7 separate regions of the Homo sapiens genome follow, and all the other regions are linked to region 1. Evidence: promoter capture Hi-C in 16 types of primary human blood cells and fetal thymus (Javierre and others, 2016). All regions are on one chromosome and are shown on one strand. The core of a region is centred on a gene start or on the middle of the fragment in contact, and the rest is flanking DNA. Distances in the headings are between cores, read along the strand shown. Region 1 holds the start of SRP19 (signal recognition particle 19). Region 2 has its middle 100 kb from the start of YTHDC2. Region 3 overlaps YTHDC2 (YTH N6-methyladenosine RNA binding protein C2). Region 4 overlaps YTHDC2 (YTH N6-methyladenosine RNA binding protein C2). Region 5 holds the start of EPB41L4A-AS1 (EPB41L4A antisense RNA 1). Region 6 overlaps YTHDC2 (YTH N6-methyladenosine RNA binding protein C2). Region 7 overlaps EPB41L4A (erythrocyte membrane protein band 4.1 like 4A).

Region 1 (3,107 bases), core at 261-2,760:
AAGAGACGTTAAAAAAATATCCCTTCAGCTATGAATTAATGCCTTTCTGGTTTCACCAACACTGAGGAACGCACCCCAATTCTTGGCTGTGTTCTCAAGCCCTAAATAAATGCAGTGAAGAGAACCCCCTGCGGCTCTAACAAGATTACGTGGCCCGACCAGGATGACACCCCCCATTCCCTCGAGGATCAAGGTGCCAGCCATCTTGCTTACCTTACTTATGGGGATTCGCCTTCCCTCTGCGATGGTCTTCTTATTATTTAAATAAGCAGGATAGATACAAATAAACCTGCCATAGACAATAGCATAAGTGGTATCACTAGAGCAGTAAGAGGCAGGAGAAAAGGGTCGGGTGGCAGGGAACCAAAGGCCAATTCATGCTGCCTAGATATCAGATGGGTACTCCCTTTTCAACCCCTCCTTTTTCTGCGTGGCAGTTGAAAAATCAAAGTACCTCGGAGTGGTCCCCTCGAGCAACTAATCAGACTGGCCGCGGGCCTACTCCTCTTTCTGATTGATCCCCCTCCCTCAACCAATCAGACTGGCACAGGTCAATGGGAAACGTCTAGAGGGTATTTAAACCCTAGAAAATTCTGTAACCAACAGCTCTTGGGTAGCTTGCTGGAGCCGGCTCCCACCCTGTGGAGTGTACTTTTGTTTAAAATAAATCTGCTTTCGCTGCCTTGCTTTGTGTGTTTTGTTCAATTCCTTATTCAAAACGCCAAGAACCTGGACAACTACACTCAACAGATAACAAGTATTTTCAAAAATACATTCTTTCGGTCCGTGGTAGTCGTCATCATTGCTGGTACACCTATGCTATTATTTGCTTAATGTTATTTCTTTAAATTACCTCACTTTAACTTATTTAAAAATAAACTTTATCCACTACCTTGGATGGAAAAAAACCACAGGAATAGAAACAAAACGACTTGGGTAACTGTTACATTAGACAGAGCAGCCCGTCAAAAGTTCCTGAGAATGGGCCCGCCCTCTTATATAAAGTGTCCGAGGTATTAAAAACCTTAAAATTTCACAAATGAGCCTTTCTGAACGCAACAATACTTAAAAAGAACACATTTCTCACACTGTGATTATATTACTTGATATCATGTCCACGTAGCACCCAAAATCCTTGTCTCGCGTACAGATAAACACTAGGCTACCTATGGTCGGAATTTCAGGAGCCCTGAGAAGAGCCTGGTGGCTGCTGCAGGATTCAGAAAAACGAGCTGCCAGGGAGAGGCGCGGGGCCCGTACAGAGCGAGTTGGATCAGCTAGGCCATTCTGGAGGCCGCGGAGCGGAGAAGCGCGGTGTAGCACCTGCAGCACCACAGCAAGCCCCTTCCTTTCGGAGGACCCACCGCCTCAGAACCCACCTGTCCTGGTCGGCCGGGGACCGCGCGGCAGCGCAAGCCATCTTCACAAGAGTCTCAACAACCCAGGAGCCGCAGGGAGAAACCCGGCAGAAACCCGGGAGGAACCCGGCTCTGAGTTTCCGAGACAGCCCGCTTTTCCGCCGGAAGTCCTGCCCAAGAAATGGTTCCGCGTCCGCGATTTCTCATCGCCTGTTTGTTCCGGCACCTGTCGCTCGGCGCCAGGATCTCTAGTCTCTGACGTGGCATGAAGACTTCCCTTCTCGCGAGAGAATCATGAAAGCTTCTCATTCCTTTCCCAAGCCGGGAAGACCATGTGGGGCGCATGCACCGCCACTAAAAAGGGTTTAACTTCGACCCTCCCTCGTTTCCAGTTTCTCAGCGAGTATGGGTGGTACTAGCTACTCTCTGTTAAGGGGCGAAGACTGTGCCACGAGGGGAATCTGTGTGGTTCAGGATGCAAATATATGTTAGACAGGGAAGGAAATACTCCTTACGTTTAATTTTTCTCCGTTCCTGGGCTCTAGAGCTTGCTTTCAGTTTGGCAAAATGGATTTTTGTAGTGGTAGAACTAGCAAAGTTATAGACGTTGTGTTTCAGTGTGCTCTGCGTTAGAAACTTAGCTATTCACCTTTTAGGCCGGGTGCGGTGGCTCACGCCTGTATCCCAGCACTTTGGGAGACTGAGGCAGGTGGATCATGAGGTCAGGAGTTGGAGAGCAGCCTGGCCAACATGCTGAAACCCCGTCTGTACTAAAAATACAAAAATTAGCCGAGTGTGGTGGCACACGCCTGTAATCCCAGCTACTCGGAGGCTGAGACAGGAGAATCACTTGAACCCAGGAGGTGGAGGTTGCAGTGAGCTGAGATCACACCACTGCACTCCAGCCTGCGTAACAGAGCAAGACTCCGTCTAGGAAAAACGAAACAAAACTATTCACCTTTTAAAACTTCTGAAGGATACCATGTGCCATCACTACAGGCATACTTCATTATTGCACTTCACTTGCTGCTGCGAGTAGATACTGCCTTTTTACAAATGGAAGGTTTTTGGCAAATCCGCCTGAAAGAAGTTGCTTGGTGCCATTTTTCCAGCAGCGTATACTTTGTGTCACATTTGGTAATTTTTGCAATATTTCAAACCTTTTCATTATTTCTGTTATGGTGATCGGTGATCAGTGATGTTTGCTGTTACTATTGTAATAGTTTTAAGGCCGGGTGCGGTGGCTCACGCCTGTAATCCCAGCACTTTGGGAGGCCGAGGCAGGTGGATCACGAGGTCAGGAGATAGACACCATCTTGGCCAACATGGTGAAACCCCATCTCTACTAAAATATAAAAAATAAGCCAGGCATGGTGGCACAGGCCTTTAGTCCCAGCTACTCGGGAGGCAGGGGAATCTCTTGAACCCAGGAGGTGGAGGTTGCAGTGAGCCAAGATCACACCACTGCACTCCAGCCTGGCGACAGTGCAAGACTCCGTCTCAAATAATAATAATGTTTTGGGGCACCATGAACCATGCCCAGATAAGATGGGGAACTTAATGGATAAATGTTGTGTATGTTTTAACTGTTCGACCAACTGGCCATTTCCCATCTCTCTCCCTCTTCTGGAGTCCCTATTCCCTGAAACACAACAATGTTGAAATTAGGCCAGTTAGTAACCCTACAATGGCCTCTAAGTATTCAAGTGAAAGGAAGAGTCACACGTCTCACATGTCAAAAGATGGAAA
Region 2 (3,107 bases), core at 406-2,905, 750 kb before region 1:
CCAGCTACCCAACTGATGTAAGGAAAGAAATTCTCCAGCTCTCTCTCCTTCCATCTATCCATCTCTTGCTGTTGCTTCCCATTGGCCAAACCTAACAGGAAATCAAAGAACATAAAGGTCAGCATATTGAGGCATAGGATAGTGGACCTGTAGAGACGACAGTGATTATCCATCATCATGACTTTCACAATTGTTTACTGAAATTTAGCAGAGACAACCTTGAGTTTCAGATATAGCAAAGCTTGTCTATTAGTGCAAATGGAAAGGTTGGTTTTTAAAAGGCACTTTATTAATTTAATATTGTTAGCTTTGGTGGAAAGAAGTGTGAAGGAAAGGTACTTTGATTCCTGTCTTTTCTAGGGTGTGGCTGAGGACTGAGGAGCAAACATAATAGGGAAGTGGAGGGGAAAAGACATAGCAGTAGCTTTGGATACTGCTTAAAGACACTTTTGGAGGATTCATTTGGAAGGATTATCCTCCAGAAACGTGGGTCCTGAGCACATGTGGTAGCTCCATTTGGTGCCTTGGTTTAATGGTCTGAACATGAAGGATGCCACAGAACTCATTGAGGAAGACCCACTGCTTGTGAGAATCTGTCCAGCCACTTTTCCACCGTGCTCCACTCTCGCAGCCCATGTGACTTGAGGCTTTCTCTATCTTCATGTCTGGGAACTCCAAACACTAATATTTACAGCACATCTCTTAAGTGTTGTCAAAACTGCTTATTGTAAAGGAAAATTTTAAAGAATCTCAGGACCCCCAAACTCCTTATGCAAAAGGAAGGTTAAGCCTGAAGACTGAGTCGTGCAACATCCTCTTGCAAATGAATAGCTGCTACTAGCATTATGCATCAGCCAGATCCTCAAGGAGAGGTGGAGAAGTGAAAGGCCTCAGGCATCTAGGGAGGGCTGTCTCCACAGATCACTCATAAGTAAATTATTTGCTGGCCTCCCATAAACAAGGACATGCCAATTGTAACTGTGGGTCTACAGTCTAAGTCTAGTTCCTAAGACTAAAGTCTGTTATACATATCTTACCAGGTACAGAACAAAGACAAGATGAGGTCAGTCACTTCCTCCATCTACCCAGAAATGTCTGCATTATTGATTCTCCTTTACTCCTTTTTTTCTCTTCAGGGGTTCCCTTTATCCCATGTAAAATGTAGATTCACTGGCCACTAACTAAAGTCTCATAAGAATGTAACTGCCTACCTGTCTCTCTTCCAAATGCCGTAATCTCTTCCAAATTACATAAGAATGTAATTCATCTAACTGCCTACCTGTCTCTCTTCCAAATGCCTTCCCCTGCTTTAAGGAAGTGTATAAATACTGAACTCCTGAAAACCTCTCTGAAAAACAATCAGAGAAGAACATATGTCTATGGCTTATTTTTTCGCAGAATACCCTAAAGCTGGCTTAATAAATCTAGATAGTTGAGACTGTTACAGTAGGTAGCTAGTCAGGTGTATTAGTTCGTTTTCATGGTGCTGGTAAAGACATACCTGAGACTGAGCAATTTACAAAAGAAAAAGGTTTAATTGGACTTACAGTTCCATGTGGCTAGGGAAGCCTCACATCATGGCAGAAGGCAAGGAGGAGCAAGTCATATCTTAACTGGATGGCAGCAGGCAAAAAATGAGGGAGCGTGTGCAGGAGAATACCTCTTTTTAAAACCATCAGATCTCGTGAGACTTACTCACTATCACAGGAACAGCATGGGAAAGATTTGCCCCCATGATTCAATTACCTCCCACCTGGTCTCTCCCACAACACGTGGGAATTCAAGATGAAATCTGGGTGGGGACACAGCCATGAGGCACGAGCAGGGCAAGAGAGGGCTCCCCTAACCACCACCAGGAATGCCAGGCAACCATCAGGTGATGGTCAGGCAGTTTGTCACATGGCCTCTCCAAAATGATAATTGGTCACAGCCTCTGCCAGAGAAAGGCAGTTTCCCATTAGATAAAAACAACTGAAACTGGAGATCAGCAGCTTCCCAATAAGATCTCAGGAATTGGGTGAGTGGGCTCAAACATATGCATTAAGAGGCAAAATGGTGCAAATTAACTGGTATATGACTTTCTGGGGGCATTCCTCTGGAAAACGGAAGACTGCATCAGGTGAGCATGCTTACAACTCCAGTAAACATACTGCACATACTCACCTCCCAAGTGCTAGCAGCACCACACATGTGGGCAGCTCACCCCAAGGGAAGAATCAAGGTAAAAGGGAGGCAAGACACTGGCAGCATATAAAACCCTAAGTCCAAGGTCAAACAGGGCACTTTACCTCCAACATTCCCACTTGACCCTCTTCCAAGTGTACTTTACTTTCTTTTCATTCCTGCTCTGAAACTTGCCTTGGTCTTTTCTTCTGCCTTATGCCCCTTAGTTGAATTCTTTCTTCTGAGGAGTCAAGAACTGAGGCTGCTGCAGACCCACACAGATTATCCAACAGTAACTGTGATATTCACCATTGATAACAAGACTTTTGCCTCAGTCACTCATTCCTGTTATCATAATACGTACATCTATATAGGGTTACCTTTGGCCCTCAAAATAACATACTGCACTTAAGAAATGTCTAAAGCTAACCAGGAAAGGGGAGAGGGGAGGCTTATGTCAGAGAAAAGCGGCTTTCTTTGCAAACTCTTCCCTAAGTAAAGCTCTCTTTAGCATTATCAGGATCCCAAGAGAAGGATCAGATTTTCAGTCATGGTCAGTTTTAACTGAAATATATGTGTCTCAGAGCCAAAGGCATCTAAAGTCCACAACCAGCACCACCCCCAGTCTCTCAGCTAGCCAGAGGTGCATCCTAAAGTGATTTGGGGTTGAAAGAGGAGAGCCCAGACTCCAGGTGCTCCTTCCCCTCAGGGCATCCTTTCCATTTTTTCAAAGGGGTTTTTTTTCCAGTCAAGGCTCTCTCTTAAACTTTTGGGAACGCAGTTCCTCATGTGTAAGACAAGGAGAAGGAATATGCAGTTTCTAAAATTCCTTCCTTCCCTCAAATGGTTTTGAAGAGGTTTCGTTTAAACCACTGAGCTATTTCAATTCATATCAATGAAGCTTATGATTGGTGCATGAAAACACGTACAATATCACCATCTAG
Region 3 (3,107 bases), core at 155-2,654, 730 kb before region 1:
TTGTTTTTCATAGAGATTCAGCAAAAGCACTCAGCTGGAACTTCCAAAGGTTTACTGTGAAACCTAGCATATTCGATGTTGGGTTTTTTTCCAAGGAACTCTCTTAAGCAACTATATCTTCTTATCTTGAAAATTATTAAAATATTTTTTCTTCTAAGATTTCTAGCTAACATATTTCTTCAAAATCATTATTATAGAATAAAAATGAAATTATTCTCACACAATTGAAAAGAATCCCACTTCATAGTACTCCTGTGGAATGATAACCTATGATAAGCACTTAAGAAGAACCCAAACACTTTTTACATGGTGATTTGAAACGAGTCATACTGGTTCAGATAAATTATTAGCTGTGTGACCTTAGGCAAAACTAATCTTTGAGTCTATTTTCTCCTATATAAAATTGGACTAATAATTTAATCATAAGAAATAAATTATATCTTCTAAAGCAGCTAGCATAGTATTTGGTCAATATACATTAATTTCCATCATCTTAACTAGCTTAAAATGCATGTAAATAGCATCATGAAGACAAAGCAAAACACAATAGAAATAAACAAGCCACTAGAATATAAAAAGGTTATTTACTTTACATAATTAAAGCCAAAGAGAAGTTAAATACTATTGTCATCTTGAGACTCTGACTGCAAGGAGCAATCAGACACATTTACAAGTAGGTTTTTACTATCTTTTTACAAACCTGAACCCCTGTTTCCCATGTGCATATGGAATATAAAATTTGTACTCTTACATTTTCTCCTCAATTAAAGCACTGGATAACAGAAAACAAACAGAAACAAAAGTAAATAAAAAAAAAAATGCCATTGTATACCTGCCCATCCCTGCTTATCTGCACTTTCTTGTTGTCATTCCATGGATTGAGTAAATGGTGTGCAAATTGAAAGGGAAGGCTTTCTTTTCGTATCCACTCCACCTTAAATACTCCTCCTAGTCCAGCAGAGCCCCAGTCCTGACTCTTTTCCCTTCCAATCTCAGAAGACATCCTAGAAAATCCCTGTAGGTAAAATGGGAGGAAGGAATAGAGGTGAGGAGGAGATTAGCATGTCTAAATTTAATTTATCTGAGAAGGCTGAGTTTTTAAAATTTTAAGATTAAGATATAATATTGAAATAACAGATACCTAACAAAAACAAAAAATAAGCTACTAAATTTTTCATTAAAAGCTCTCTTAGCAAATTTTAGAAAAAAACAGTTCTAGCCTCCTAACAATTTCAAATATCAATAATGATTTCTAAATAAAATAGCAAAGTCCATATTTTTATTCCATGATAAATGGATACAAGCTAACCTCTAAGCTTTCATTTCCAAAAATTATAATAAACATCAAATAATAAATGTATTATTTTATAAATTCAGGTATACATTAAGTCAAGATGGGTGATGGGTTAAGAAACATACTTAGTTTACTGATTGTCAATACTAACTTCCTTGGCCTATTTAAATAAATATTTTACCAAAAGGTCAAGCTTCTCATTACTTTGAATCCACTTGAGAATTAGTAAATCTAAAGTTGTCTTCAGAAGGAAACATAGTTTACCTGGAAAGACTCTGGTAAGACAAGGCAAAAACAAAGAGGATTCCAGTTCTATCATCCTCTAAAGAGATGCAATATATCCCTTATTCTCAGTCAAGCAAAAGGCATTCTTGCATTCTGATGCAATGAAAAGCCAGTTGTTTTTCTAAAAATCTCTATGATTTAACCTATAGCCAGAACAACCCCATTTTACTGATTCAGGGTGGCTCACCTGGAAATGTCCAGATCCTTGAACAGAAAATACCAAGTAAACTATGCTGCTTTCCCAAAAGGCTCGATTTAGCTTCCGTTCATTACTAGGAGTTGTAGACCAGATACCCTTCTGTTGAGAAATTTCAAGGTTTCTCAAATTGCTACTCTTCATTATGAAGTATCGAACAGGCATGTTTGGTCTTGGCGAAGGAGATTTTGAGCCCTATAAAAGAAAACATAAGTTCTTGAAAGGTAACCTGACCTTTCAAAACCAAGAGGCTCCATTAAATAACATCTTCATAAACATATAAGCCAAAATATTTTATCATATATTCAACAAATGCAAATAGCTCTATCATGTCTGAAACCTACACAAGACTCAACCAAAATAAAGTTAGCCAAAAACAAGTACTCATTTTCAGAGCATTCAAAATCCCTTATCAACAAAGGCTCCTGGAGTACCAACTTTGGTTTATACCTCAAATATACTTTCAGAAATTGTTTTAATAAACTTTCAAAATCAGAAAACAAAACAAATACTTCTCCAGCTTACTGCCTGGAGGCAGTTTTCAGAGGACAAAGAAAAACAGAGTCCAGTGGTCTCATTAAGTTGTGCAGAAAGACACTGGAGTTCAGAGACCGAAGTGGCTACTGTGCATGGCAATGTACTATCTTAGACAGAAAGGAGCTGCACATAAAGAGAGCTCCAAAGGAAACACAGAGGGGTTCCCACAAGTTTTTGGCTAAGTGCTGACCTGAACATGAGTGAGAAAAAAGATAAATAACCCAAGGCTAGGGAAAGATCCAAAGGAAAACAAGTAGACCAAACAATTCCTAGAGCTCACTCATGGCTGGGAATATTTCGTGTTATCTTCAGCCAGAACAGATAGAACCTGTAATATATATGGTACTGGCCCACAGAAGGGCCATACCTTAGTATTGGAACTAAATTAATAACAGAATAAAGACTGCTCTGGCCCATTCCTAACATTACTTAAAAGCAAACTTCAAAAGGATTCAACTGATTGCAACTAAACTGTGCATCACAACAAAGTCTAACGCTATTGAAAGGAATATACAAAAACCTAGCTGCCCAACAAAATTATAAGAAACACAAAGAATATACAAAGGTTGTTATTTACATAATTAAGGCTGAAGAGAAGTTAAATACTGTTGTCATCTTGAGACTCTGATTGCAATGAGCAATCAGACACATTTACAAGTAGATTTTTACTAGCTCTTTACAAATCTGAACCCGTTTCTCATGTGCATATGGAATATAAAATTTGTACTTGCATTTTCTCCACAGACAAAGCACTGGATAACAAGAAGACAAAACAGAAAGAAAAGTAAAAGAAAA
Region 4 (3,107 bases), core at 273-2,772, 710 kb before region 1:
TCCTAAGGACAGACACACACTGTTATACCTTCAATGTCTAGCACAGTACCTGACATATAGTAGGTACTAAATATTTGCTGAATCATTAAATAGCAAATAATTTGAAATCATCAAGATGTCTAACTATGAAGGAACATTTTAAATGTGTTATGCCAGGGGATCAATCAAGATGGCTTATTAGAAACAGCTGCAGTCTGCGGCACTCACAAAGAAGAATGAAAAGGCACAATGAATTCAGCATCTTCAACTGAAATATCCAGGTTCTCACATTCGGACATACTAGGCATACATACAAATCAACCCATGGAGAATGAAGAAAAGTAGGTGAAGGCGACAGCCCACACAGGAGCAGCACAGAGCAAAAGGAACCCTCACCCCCAGCCAAGGGAAGCAGTGAGTGATTATATGACCCCTCCCGGGAAACCACATTTCTCCCATGGATCTTTGCAACCTGTGAATCAGGGGATCCCTTTGTGAGCCCATGCCACAGATCTGTGTGGAGTGTTGGCAGAGCAGCCACTCAGGCACACACAGAAACGTAGGAGTTTTACATACTCTGGCCCTGGGATCCCTAGCAAGGCAGGAAATCTGTTTGTACATATCCCTAGGAAGGGGGCTGAATCCAGGAAGCCAAGCAGCATCATTCTGTGGGATCCACTTCCATGGCACCTCACCAATTATGACCTACTGGCTTGGGATGCCAGCCAGCCAACAGCAGTGGGTTGGTCTGTCTGAGATGGGGCCGAGTTCCCAGGGGGAGGGGTGGCTGCTATCTTTGTGGTTTGGTTGACTCAGCCACTCCAGCCTGATGGCTATACAGGCAGTCTGGATGAGGAAGGGTTCCCACCAATGCAGCACACCTGCTGTATCAAAAAGCAGCCAGACTGCTTCTTTGTACAGGTCCCTGATCTCATTCCTCCTGACTGGGTGAGACCTCAGAACAGGGGCTTCCAGTCACCTCCTACAGATGCATGTGGGCCAGCAACAGGCCAATAACCCCCAGGACAGAACTTCCAGAGGAAGGAGCTGGCTTCCATCTTTGCTGTTTTGCAGACTTCACTGGTGATACCTCCAGGTACAGGAAAAACTGAGGCAACTGAGGTCTGGTGGGGAGCCCCAGCAAACCGCAGCAGCCCTATGGAAGACTGGCCTGACTCTAAAAGAAAAACAAACAGAAAACAACAACAACATCAACAGAAAAGACTCCACAAAAACCTCATTCAAAGGTCAGCATCCTCAAAGATCAAAGGTAGATAAGCCCGCAAAGGTGAGAAATAATGCAAAGATGCTGAAAACTCAAAAAGCCAGAGTGCCTCTTCTCCTCCAAATGATTGTGATACCTCTCTAGCAAGGGCACAGAACTGGGCTGAGGCTGAGATGGCTAAAATGACAGAAGTAGGCTTCAGAAGGTGGGTAATAACAAACTTCGCTGAGCTAAAGAAGCATATTGTAACCCAATGCAAAAAAGCTAAGAATCATGATAAAACAATACGGGAGCTAATAGCCAGTTTAGAGAAGAACATAACCGACCTAACGGAGCTGAAAAACACAACAGGAGAACTTCACAATGCAATCACAAGTATCAACAGAAGCACAGACCAAGCAGAGAATAGAATCTCAGAGCTTGAAGACCGTCTTTCTGACATAAAACAGGCAGACAAGAATAGAGAAAAAAGAATGAAAAAAGAAATGAACAAAACCTCCAAGAAATATGGGATTATATAAAGAGGCTGAACCTATAACTGACTGGGGTAGCTGAAAGATAAAAGAGAATAGAACCAAGCTGGAAAACATACTTCAGGATATCATCCAGAACTTCCCTAACCTAGCAAGACAGGCCAACATTCAAATTCAGGAAATCCAGAGAACCCTAGTATAATACTCCATGAGAAGATCAACCCCAAGACAAAAAAATCATCAGATTCTCCAAGGTCTAAAGGAAAGAAAAAATGTTAAGGGCAGCCAGAGAGAAAGGCCAGGTTACATACAAAGGGAAGCCCATCAGACTAACAGTAGACCTCTAAGAGGAAACCCTACAAGCCAGAAGAGATTGGGGGCCAATATTCAACACTCTTAAAGAAAAGAATTTCCAACCCAGAATTTCATATCCAGCCAAACTGAGCTTTATAAGTGAAGGAGAAATAAGATCCTTTTCAGACAAGCAAATGCTGAGGGAATATGTCACCACCAGGCCTGCCTTGCAAGAGCTCCTGAAGGAAGCACTAAATATGAAAGGGAAAAATCCATTACCAGCCACTACAAAAACACACGGAAGTACACAAACCAGTAACACTATGAAGCAACCACATAAACAAGTCTGCAAAATAACCAGCTAGCATCATGACAGAATCAAATTCACACATAACAATACATAACCATAAAAGTAATATTGAAGGTAAATGGGGTAAATGTCCCAAGTGAAAGGCACAGAATGGCAAACTGGATAAAGAGCCAAGACCCACGAGTATGCTGTCTTCAAAAGACCCATCTCACATGCAAAGCCACACATAGGCTCAAAAGAAAGGGATGGAGGAAAATTTACCAAGCAAATGGAAAACAGAAAAAGGCAGTGGTTGCAATCCTAGTTTCTGATAAAACAGACTTTAAACCATAAAGATCAAAGAAAGGCATTACACAGTGGTAAAGGGCTCAATTCAACAAAAAGAACTCATGATCCTAAATATATATGCAAGCTAATACAGGAGCACCCAGATTCATTAAACAAGTTCTTAGAGACCTACAAAGAGATTTAGACTCCCATACAATAATAGTGGGAGACTTTAACACCCCACAGACAACATTAGACAGATCATCAAGACAGAAAATTAACAAAGATATTCAGGACCTGAACTCAGCTCTGGATCAAGTGGACCTGATAGATATCTACAGAACTCTCTACCCAAAAACAAGAGAATATACATTCTTCTCATCGCCACATGGCATTTATTCTAAAATTGATCACATAACTGGAAGTAAAACACTCCTCAGTAAATGTAAAAGAAGTAAAATCATAACAGTCTATCAGACCACAGCACAATCAAATTAGAACTCAAGACTAAGACATTCACTCAATACCACACAACTACATGGAAACTGAACAACCTGCT
Region 5 (2,500 bases), core at 1-2,500, 700 kb after region 1:
CTTCAGGTCACCTTTATGCTCCCAGATGGTATTCAGCTAGCAGCAGTCTACACTTCAGGCATCCATCTTCCACCTGAACAAAAATTAGAACTGGCTAAGAGAAACCATACACTTAAGGCTAGCAGGGTCAAGATCACGCGTGGAAACGTAAAAGCAGCAACTGTTACTTATGCAGCTCCTACACCAAAGGTATCAAATTTAAGGGCAGGAAAAGGCTGCAAAGCGTTTAATTTACGCCTTTTTTGACACCACATTCACTAGTTTCCAAAGTGAATGGGCAACACAAAGGCTGACACTGCGTGAGGTAGGCTTTATGGCATAAGGTTGCTGACTGGCTGACAGTAATGCCGATTACAGCCTAAAAACGGACAATACATTTCAGAGAAATTTTCTCACGATTTAAAATCCGACTTAATAATGAAAAGTGAAATGCGATGCGTTTTAAATGGCGACTGGTCTTGCACGAACGTGAAAACTCACCTGTAGGGTAGGTGATCACTCCCGACGAGCACCGCACGTGGAAACAGCTGTAACCAGGCACGCTGCTTTTAAGTTATTTTATACGGGGGCAGGGCAAGCATAAAGTCAGTTATACGGTAAGGCCTTTTCACTGACGAAAATAAAACCAGGCTTATCTGGAGAACTCCCTGGCATAGTCGATGATGTAAACACAAATCGACGAAGCTCCCCGTTTCCAAACGTGGGAACGCAGGCCTGAGGCCAGGCCGCTGCCCTTGTTCACGGCCCCGGACACTTCGGACACAGGCCGCCGCAGTCGACTCACCAGACTCAGGGTGGCCGCGTTCCCCCGCCCGGCGCCCCTGCGTGAGAGACCACGCGGCCACAGCCAGGCGCCATCCCAGAGGACCCAGAGCAAAAACCACAGCAAGCTCGCACCAAAAGGAAGAAAGGACAGGCTTCCGTCCCACAATGCTTTTCTACAAGTGGAAGGACCCACTGTCCGAGAGCGCGAGGGGGGAGCGGGCTGTACCATCGGCCGCTGCGCTATGGCGAGACGCCGCCGTGTGGCCGGAGGGAGAAGTGCCAGTGAGGGACCGAGGGGCGTGTCACCAAAGGGAGGAGGAGCCTGGGTTCTCAGCCCGAGTCACCTCTGCGGATGTGTGGCCAGTTCTTTCCACAGAGGAGGTATCCAGACATCCCCCCACCCGACCAGGGTCAAGAGCATATGATCAGTGCTGGCAGCGGCAGGAGCCCAAAGGACTTTAGACCACGTATTTTGGGACCCGACAGAATTCATGAGTCCAGCTGAGGAAGAGTAGAGTCATTCATTCGAAAGATATTTAGTCAGCACTTACTATGCTCCAGGCCCTGGCCTGAGTGCCTGGGAATCAGGTGTGGGTGAGCCAGGCAAGGTTTCTGTGGTACATTCTGCTTGGGTGAGTAGGCCACTGACCAAGTGAGCCCGGATGCTGAAATTCTACAATGTAAGTGCCAGGAGGGCAGCAAAAGAGGGTCATGCCATAGGGTAGCGCTGTCCGATGGAAACAGTGTGAGCCATGAGTGTAATTTTAAATTTTCCAATTGCCACATAAAATGTGAAAAGAACGCCGGGCGCGGTGGCTCATGCCTGTAATCCCAGCACTTTGGCAGGCTGAGGCAGGTGATCACCTGAAGTCAGGAGTTCAAGACCAGCCTGGCCAACATGGCAAAACCCCGTCTCTACTAAAAATACAAAAATTACTTGGGCTTGGTGGCGGGCGTCTATAATCCCAGCTACTTGGGAGGCTGAGGCAGGAGAAATGGCTTGAACCCGGGCGGGGTGGGGGTGGAGGTTGCGGTGAGCCGAGATCATGCCACTTGACTCCAGCCTGGACAAAAGGGCGAAACTCCGTCTCAAAAAAAAAAAAAAAAAAGTAAAAAGAAACAGATCAAATTAATTTTAATAATAACCCAACATATTTTAAATATTTCAACAGGCAATCAATATGAGATTATTAATAAGATATTTCTTTTATATCTACTAAGTCATAAAAATCCGGTGTATATTTTATACTTCCAGCACATTTCCGTTCAGACTAGACACATTTCAAGTGTTCAGTAGCTCATGGGGCTAGGAATAGGAAGACTGGAAGTGAACTCCGAGCAGATGTGTGAAGGCGGTTATGCAAGATCTGGAGACAGCAGGCCTTGGCCAGTGTGGCTGGAGTCGAGTAAGGAGTGTAGAGTGACAAGATGCAGCTGGAGAGCCAGGCAGGAGCAAGGCACTTAGGGTCTTGTCACACAGGGCAAGGTGTTGGGATTTTATGCTGAAATCTTAGAGTTGATTAATTATCACCACAAAAATTAAGCAGAGTTTGTTAATTGGCTTTTTTCCTGATAACCATAACTCCTTGAAGGGACAGGACAAGTGGCAGCAAGACAAGTTGTATGATAACAACTAGGTCTCCATGTTTCTCTAAGTCCTAGCAGAGATTCATCCAGAGACCAGTTTTAGCACCTTTCGTTGTTTCTTTGAAGCCTACTTCTATAAAAGAAAGAA
Region 6 (3,107 bases), core at 327-2,826, 690 kb before region 1:
GGCAATAAAATCTGAATTTTCATTGGCTCACCATTAAGATTTTTAGTGATAATACTCATTAATGTACTATTATATAAAAATAAAATTTATCCCACCTTTATTCAATTATAAAGCATATGGCCAATTTTTATAATAAAATTTTATTTTCTATAAAATATTCCTTAAAATTACATTGAAAACATAAGGCAATTACTTTTTTCACATTAAAAACGATCATTTTTATCCACTAAATAGATATAATTTGCTTTCCACACATGAGTAATATGTCTTCCCTTGAAAAATCAATTATCTTTACCACTTTCATTTTTTCAGCGAATGTTATCTACCAAAAGTTAGGAACATGGACAACTGCTGGGCATTCCAGTACTAAAAGGAAATAAATGGCTTTTTTTTTTTTATAACAAAGGTTGGCTGTTTTTGAAAAGGACTTTCAAATAGTAAATATTTTAGGCTTTGAGAGGGTCTCTGTTACAAATACTCCAATCTGCCTTGCAGTATGAAGGCAGCAACCATAGAGAAAAGGTAAAAGTAGACTAGCTGAGTTCCAATGAAACTTTTTTTTTACAAAAGCAAGTGTTAAGTCCAATTTAGCTGCTGGTTATCCCATGGTTTATCTATTTCTTTGCTTTCTTTCAGCATGGTTCTCTTGAACTGAGTATCTTTTGAACACCTGCTATAGGTGAGGCACTAAAGATTTAACAGTGAACAAAGACATAATCCATGTGCATATGTAGAAGGAAAACATAAAAAATATGTAATCAAATTCCCATACTGTGTGACAACATTTTCACTATAACTAACCAAACCCTTTACTTTCTTCCTAGTATTTGGTGAGCAGAGCTACATTTTTGTATACTTTGTTAAAATAACAAAAATTGATTCTATATACTGAATTATTTAAGGCAGAATATTTAGTAAAATCAATATTTAGTATGTTAAATTTATCTAGAACCAGACATTTTTCGTAAATTCTGCTTATAAAAGCATGCGCTGGTCCAAGCTGTCTTGAGTAGAGGTAAAATTAAAAGAAAAACAACTAAATAATAAATAAAAGTATTTGTTGAAGTAGAACTTAATCTTCTTCATTTAAGTAAAACTACAACTTACCCATACATACCTCTTTCACCTTACCAGAATCAATAACAAAGACAACATCATTGACTGTGATGCTGGTTTCAGCAATATTGGTGGAAAGAATCTGCAACAAGATATTACTTTAAAGTTAATAAAAAAACAGAAAAAATAACTAATGAAAGTGTTAAAAAGAAGATTTTATGAAGCTTACTATTTTTCGAACACCTGCAGGTGGGTTTTTTAATACTTTCTTTTGATCGGATGTTTGCATATTTGAATGAAGCATAAAGACTTGGTATCTGCAGACAATTGAAAGAGAAAACATACTATAAGACCTGTCCGTTATTTTAAGCAACAGATATAAGGCTTTAGCCCTTACCTATGTGTACTGTCAGCAAACCGCTTGTCATCAAACAGGATGCGATCTCTCAGTCCAACAATTTCGTCATATCCAGGCAGAAAAATTAGTACTGCACCTTGGAGAAGAATGACTTTTTAATATTAAATCTCATTGTGAATCAGAGGCAATCAACAGAATTATAAAAATCTGTATCACATGTTTTCAAGTACTGGTAAACTATCATAAGATGACAGGAGATTATTCACTTACTACTATCAGTGCAATTATATAAAAATTTGTACACTTAAAATATTAATTCTTAAAGTATATATTTTGCTCCAGTTCTTTTAGACAACACGTATTTACCAGCATCACAACTATGGCAGATATTGTATAGAAGATGCATGATCAAATCCAAGTCTACTTTTTCATCATCGAAACTATGATGATAAGCTTTCAGGAGCTCTCTGTCTTCAGCACTGAGGTCACTTCCATTTGTTTGAACCAGAGAACTTTCATCTAGATTTCCAAATTCCAGTGTAGCACTGAAAAAAAAAAAAAAAAAAAAGACAAAGTCAATTTCCATTAACAAAAGTAATCCTTATGTCCTTCAAATTTCCAATATTCCCTAAGGAAGGTAAGGTAAGTGACACTTAATGTCCTAGCTATAATATGATTCATGTTTTGATTTCAAGCACATTATTCAAAGTAAAATTTGGCAATGAATGCTTTTAGAAAAGCACAATCTGAAGGCATTTCTCCAAAGTAAATATACAAATGGCCTATAAGCACATGAAAAGATGTTCAACATCATTAGCTATCAGGGAAATGCAAATCAAAACCACAATGAAATACCACTTCACACCAACTAGGATGACTACAATCAAAAAGACAGACAATAACAAGTGTTGGAGAGGGTGTGGAGAAATTTAAACCCTCATGCATTGCTGGTGGAAATGTAAAATGGTAAAGCTGCTTTGGAAAACAATGTGGCAGTTCTTCAAAAGGTTAAACATAGAGTTACCATATGCCCCAGCAATTCCACTCCTAGGTGTATATATAAGAGAAATGAAAAAAATATATCCACATAAAAATCTGTACACAAATATTCATACCAGTATTATTCATAGTCAGAAAGTGGAAACAACCTAAGTGTTCATCAATTGACAAATATACAAACAAACCTTGGTATATCCATAGAATATGTATTAGTCATAAAAATAGTGCTACAACATGGATATTTTATGCTAACTGAAAAAAGCCAATCACAAAAACCACATATCACATGATTTCATTTATATAAAATGTCCAAAATAGACAAATCTATAGAAACTGGAAGTAGATTAGTGGTTGGTCTAAAGCTGGAGGAGGCCTAGGAGAGTTGGGGCGGAATAGGGAGAGACACCTAATGGGTACAAGTTTCTTTTTGTGGTGATGAAACTGTTCTAAAATTGATTGTGGTGATGATTGCATAAGTCTGTGAACATATGAAAAACCATTGAATTGGTCACCTAAATGGGTGAATTATATGGTATATTAATTATATCTCAATAAAACTGTTAAAAACCACAAACTTTCAGCTATCATTTATATTTTCTTAATAGGTTGTATCTAATTGTTTACTACTATAAACAATATTCTGATGTATAGTTCACATTTTTAAAAAACTCAGTAGGTACCAACTTAACATGAC
Region 7 (3,107 bases), core at 421-2,920, 680 kb after region 1:
AAAAGCATTTTTTTCTTCCTTAAATATAGAATTCACCAGTGAAACAATCTCTGCCTGGAATGTTCTTTGTGGAAGGTTTTAAATTACAAATTCAGTTTCTTTGACAGATATTGAGATATTCATATTTTATACTTATGTGTAAGTTTTGATAATTTATACTTTTAAAATAATTTCATTTTTATCTAAGTTGTCAAATCTTTCAGCAAAAATTTGCTTATAATTCTCCCTGTGCTTTTAACATCTGTGAAATCTGTTGTGATATCACCACTTTAATTCCTGATGTTGGTGATTTGTGTTTTCTCTTCATTTTTTTTTAATTTATTTTTTTCAGAGAACCAATTTTAGATTTTGTTGCTTTTTCTTTGCTATCTGTTGTCTGTTTCATTGACTGTACTTTTTATTCTTTTTATTTTGTCTTTTACCTGCTCTTCTTTTTTCATCTTCTTAGGATAACATTTATTTTAAACCTTTCTACTTTTCCAATATAAGCATAAATTTATAAATTTCCCTTTCAGCCATGCTTTAACTATATCTCACATGTTTTTGACATTGTTTTTGTTATCATACAGTTCAAAATAATTTTTAATGTATCTTGTCTTTTTTTGATGCTGGCATTTTTAGTTGTGTGTTTAATTTCCAAATATTTCAGGATTTTCTACAAATATTATTATTATTCTAATTTAATTCCATTGTGGTTAAAAAAAAAAGTCTGAACAGTTTTAATCCCTTGAAATTTATTGAGACTTGTTTTAAGGCCTAGCATATGGTTTTTAATGATGAATAATCTGTAGACTCAAGAAGAATGAGGAGTCTCAGTTACTGGTTGTCGAATAGATGCAGTTAGCTGATAGTGTTCAGATTGTGTCTTTTTTTTTATTTCTTCATCTACTTTTCAAGTAGTCATTGAGAGAGGGATGTTAAAATCTACAACAGTGATTGTCAATTTGTCTGTTTTTTCCTTTAATTCTGTCAGTTTTTACTTCAAGTTATTTTGAAGCTCTGGTGTTAGGTGTATGCATATGTATGGTTTTTTCCTTCCTGATGAACTGATGACCCTTTATTCTGGCAATACTTTCTCTGTGTCCACTACACATGCACACGCATAAATTCTACCATACCTTCTTCATGTTTACTGTTTGCATGGTATATCCTTTTAATCTGTTACTTTAAGCCTAGTTATGTCTTTATATTTAAAGTCCACCTCTTGTAAACAGTGTACAGTTGGTCTTTTTGTTTTTTTTTTTTAATTCTAGCCTGACAATCCCTGTCTTTTAAGTTCAGTGTTTAGCCTGCTAGCAGTTAACATAATTATTTGTATTTTGCGATATAAATCTACCATCTTGTTCTTTTTTCTGGTTTATTACGCCTGTTTTTTGTTGGTTTGTTGCTCCCTTCCTACTTTATTTTGTGTGAACTGAATATTTTTTGATACTCCATTTTATTTTCTCTACTGATATCTTACCTATACTTTTATTATTTTTTTATTTATTGCTTTCTCTCTGTAAGTATGATTCTTATCAGTATGGTTCCTTATCACACCCTAAGATGAATATTGTAACATTTAAAATTTAGAAACATTGGAAAAATATAGCTCCACTTGTGCTTTGTGCTATTGTCATATATTTTATTTTTGCCTGTTAGAAGCCTCGTATTAAAATGTTAATGTATCTTTGCTTAAACAGTGAGTTTTTATATAAAGAAATTAAGAGGAGGAAAAACCTTAGTTACTGTGGTGGGAAGAATAATGACCCCTGATATATGTCCATGGCTTAATCTCCATAATGTGTGAATATATGACCCTAGATGGCAGAGAGGAGTTAAGATTGCAGGTGGAATTAAGGCTGTTGTTAATCAGTTGACCCTCACCCAGAGATATTATCCTGGATTATCCAAGTAGGCCCAAAGTAATCATAAGTTTCTTAAAAGTGGAAGAGGTGACAGAAGAGGAAGAGTGTTTCAGTTTGAAACGGACTCAACCTGCTGTTGCTGGCTTTGAAAATAGAGGAAAAGGCCTTGAACGAATAAATGTGGGCAGCTCCAGAAGATGGAAAACACAAGAAAATGAATTTTCCCTTGAGTCTGCAGAAAGGAATGCAGCCATGCCAACACCTTGATTTTAGTCCAGTAGGACCTGTGTCAGATTTCTCAGCTGATACGGCCAAAGTGCAGTTAAAGTAGAAAAAAAAATTATATATATATATTTGTGTGGATAGTAGTTCATTTAGAAGTTGCTGGCCGGGGACGGTGGCTCATGCCTGTAATCCCAGCACTTTGGGAGGCCAAGGCAGGCCGATCACCTGAGTTCAGGAGTTCAAGACAAGCCTGGCCAACGTGGTGAAACCTCGTCTCTACTAAAAATACAAAAATTAGCTGGGTGTGGTGGTGGGTGCCTGTAATCCCAGCTACTTGGGAGGCTGGGTCAGGAGAATTGCTTGAAGCTGGGAGGCGGAGGTTGCAGTAAGCCGAGATGGCGCCATTGCACTTCAGCCTGGGCAACAGGAGTGAAACTCCATCTCAAAAAAAAAAAAAAAAAAAAAAAAAAAAGTTGCTCTGGTGGGTAAAAAGCAGATTGAGAAAGAGGAAGAAAGGAAGCAGGAAAGCAATTAGAAAACTTTGCAGTGGTCCACGTGAGACGCTTTTAGCTCAGAAAAGATGGTGGTGGTGAAATGAAGAGAGTAGATGAATATACATTTTGGAAGTACAGCTGACAGATTTGTAGTGTGAGCGGTATTATGGATGACATTGAGTTTCTGAGCAGATGCACTGAGTGGGTAGCATCGTGTTTTACTGAGATGGGAAGGGATGGGCCAGGAATGTTTTGGGGGGGAGAGAATCAAGATTTCTCTTTGTTAGGTTTGAGATGCCAAGTAGGCAGTTAATGGAAATGTCAGGTGGACAACTGAATACAAATGTTGTAACTCTTAAGGATGATGGATTACTTCATATAGCACAAACTGAGCTCTGTCCTTTATTTGAGTTATGACTGTTAAAAGCCTGAGATTGATTGACAATTAATAAAATACCTGCTGGGTGCTGTTGTTTGCATTCTGGATCTTCAGCTTATTACCTGATCCCCATGAGCTTCCATCTCTACAACACTGATGGTA

The links. The method cuts DNA at HindIII sites, captures the fragments that hold promoters and counts their contacts. A CHiCAGO score of 5 or more calls a contact.
Region 2: a contact is called between a fragment that was not itself captured here and the fragment with the promoter of SRP19 in region 1, in 7 of 17 cell types (naive CD4 T cells, fetal thymus, naive CD8 T cells and 4 more). The highest score is 15.5, in naive CD4 T cells.
Region 3: a contact is called between a fragment that was not itself captured here and the fragment with the promoter of SRP19 in region 1, in 13 of 17 cell types (naive CD4 T cells, total CD4 T cells, total CD8 T cells and 10 more). The highest score is 13.5, in naive CD4 T cells.
Region 4: a contact is called between a fragment that was not itself captured here and the fragment with the promoter of SRP19 in region 1, in 2 of 17 cell types (total CD4 T cells and megakaryocytes). The highest score is 6.5, in total CD4 T cells.
Region 5: a contact is called between the fragment with the promoter of EPB41L4A-AS1 here and the fragment with the promoter of SRP19 in region 1, in 7 of 17 cell types (total B cells, naive CD4 T cells, naive B cells and 4 more). The highest score is 10.2, in total B cells.
Region 6: a fragment that was not itself captured here is called in contact with the fragment with the promoter of SRP19 in region 1 in 13 of 17 cell types (naive CD4 T cells, total CD8 T cells, activated CD4 T cells and 10 more); the score reaches 15.8 in naive CD4 T cells.
Region 7: a contact is called between a fragment that was not itself captured here and the fragment with the promoter of SRP19 in region 1, in 3 of 17 cell types (total B cells, erythroblasts and naive B cells). The highest score is 7.2, in total B cells.

What each region holds. Positions count from the first base shown.
Region 1 is chr5:112,859,690-112,862,796 of GRCh38, reverse strand. SRP19 (signal recognition particle 19) reads right to left here and starts at 1,510. Exons shown (of 5, transcript NM_003135.3): 1 at 1,380-1,510; 2 at 214-289. The coding sequence starts at 1,420. RefSeq lists enhancers at 1,213-1,512, 1,613-1,692, 1,451-1,745. The HindIII fragment of the contact is 2,166 bases long and covers 1-1,661 here.
Region 2 is chr5:113,612,170-113,615,276 of GRCh38, reverse strand. No RefSeq gene overlaps it. Among named protein-coding and RNA genes, the nearest start is that of YTHDC2, 100 kb to the right of the region's middle. The HindIII fragment of the contact is 2,823 bases long and covers 244-3,066 here.
Region 3 is chr5:113,589,904-113,593,010 of GRCh38, reverse strand. It overlaps YTHDC2 (YTH N6-methyladenosine RNA binding protein C2), which reads right to left. Exons shown (of 30, transcript NM_022828.5): 27 at 1,767-1,970; 28 at 833-1,015. Among named protein-coding and RNA genes, the nearest start is that of YTHDC2, 78 kb to the right of the region's middle. The HindIII fragment of the contact is 171 bases long and covers 1,319-1,489 here.
Region 4 is chr5:113,572,244-113,575,350 of GRCh38, reverse strand. All of the region lies in intron 23 of YTHDC2 (YTH N6-methyladenosine RNA binding protein C2), which reads right to left. Among named protein-coding and RNA genes, the nearest start is that of YTHDC2, 60 kb to the right of the region's middle. The HindIII fragment of the contact is 6,540 bases long and covers 1-3,107 here.
Region 5 is chr5:112,159,276-112,161,775 of GRCh38, reverse strand. EPB41L4A-AS1 (EPB41L4A antisense RNA 1) reads right to left here and starts at 1,250. Exons shown (of 3, transcript NR_015370.2): 1 at 481-1,250; 2 at 1-73. It overlaps SNORA13 (small nucleolar RNA, H/ACA box 13), which reads right to left and starts at 291; the gene lies at 159-291. It also overlaps a transcript of EPB41L4A not described here. RefSeq lists enhancers at 446-495, 606-655, 676-775, 551-1,283, 1,156-1,365 and 1 more. The HindIII fragment of the contact is 7,805 bases long and covers 1-2,500 here.
Region 6 is chr5:113,552,033-113,555,139 of GRCh38, reverse strand. It overlaps YTHDC2 (YTH N6-methyladenosine RNA binding protein C2), which reads right to left. Exons shown (of 30, transcript NM_022828.5): 13 at 1,781-1,959; 14 at 1,454-1,550; 15 at 1,286-1,373; 16 at 1,118-1,198. Among named protein-coding and RNA genes, the nearest start is that of YTHDC2, 40 kb to the right of the region's middle. The HindIII fragment of the contact is 587 bases long and covers 1,283-1,869 here.
Region 7 is chr5:112,176,181-112,179,287 of GRCh38, reverse strand. All of the region lies in intron 18 of EPB41L4A (erythrocyte membrane protein band 4.1 like 4A), which reads left to right. Among named protein-coding and RNA genes, the nearest start is that of SNORA13, 16 kb to the right of the region's middle. The HindIII fragment of the contact is 4,623 bases long and covers 1-3,107 here.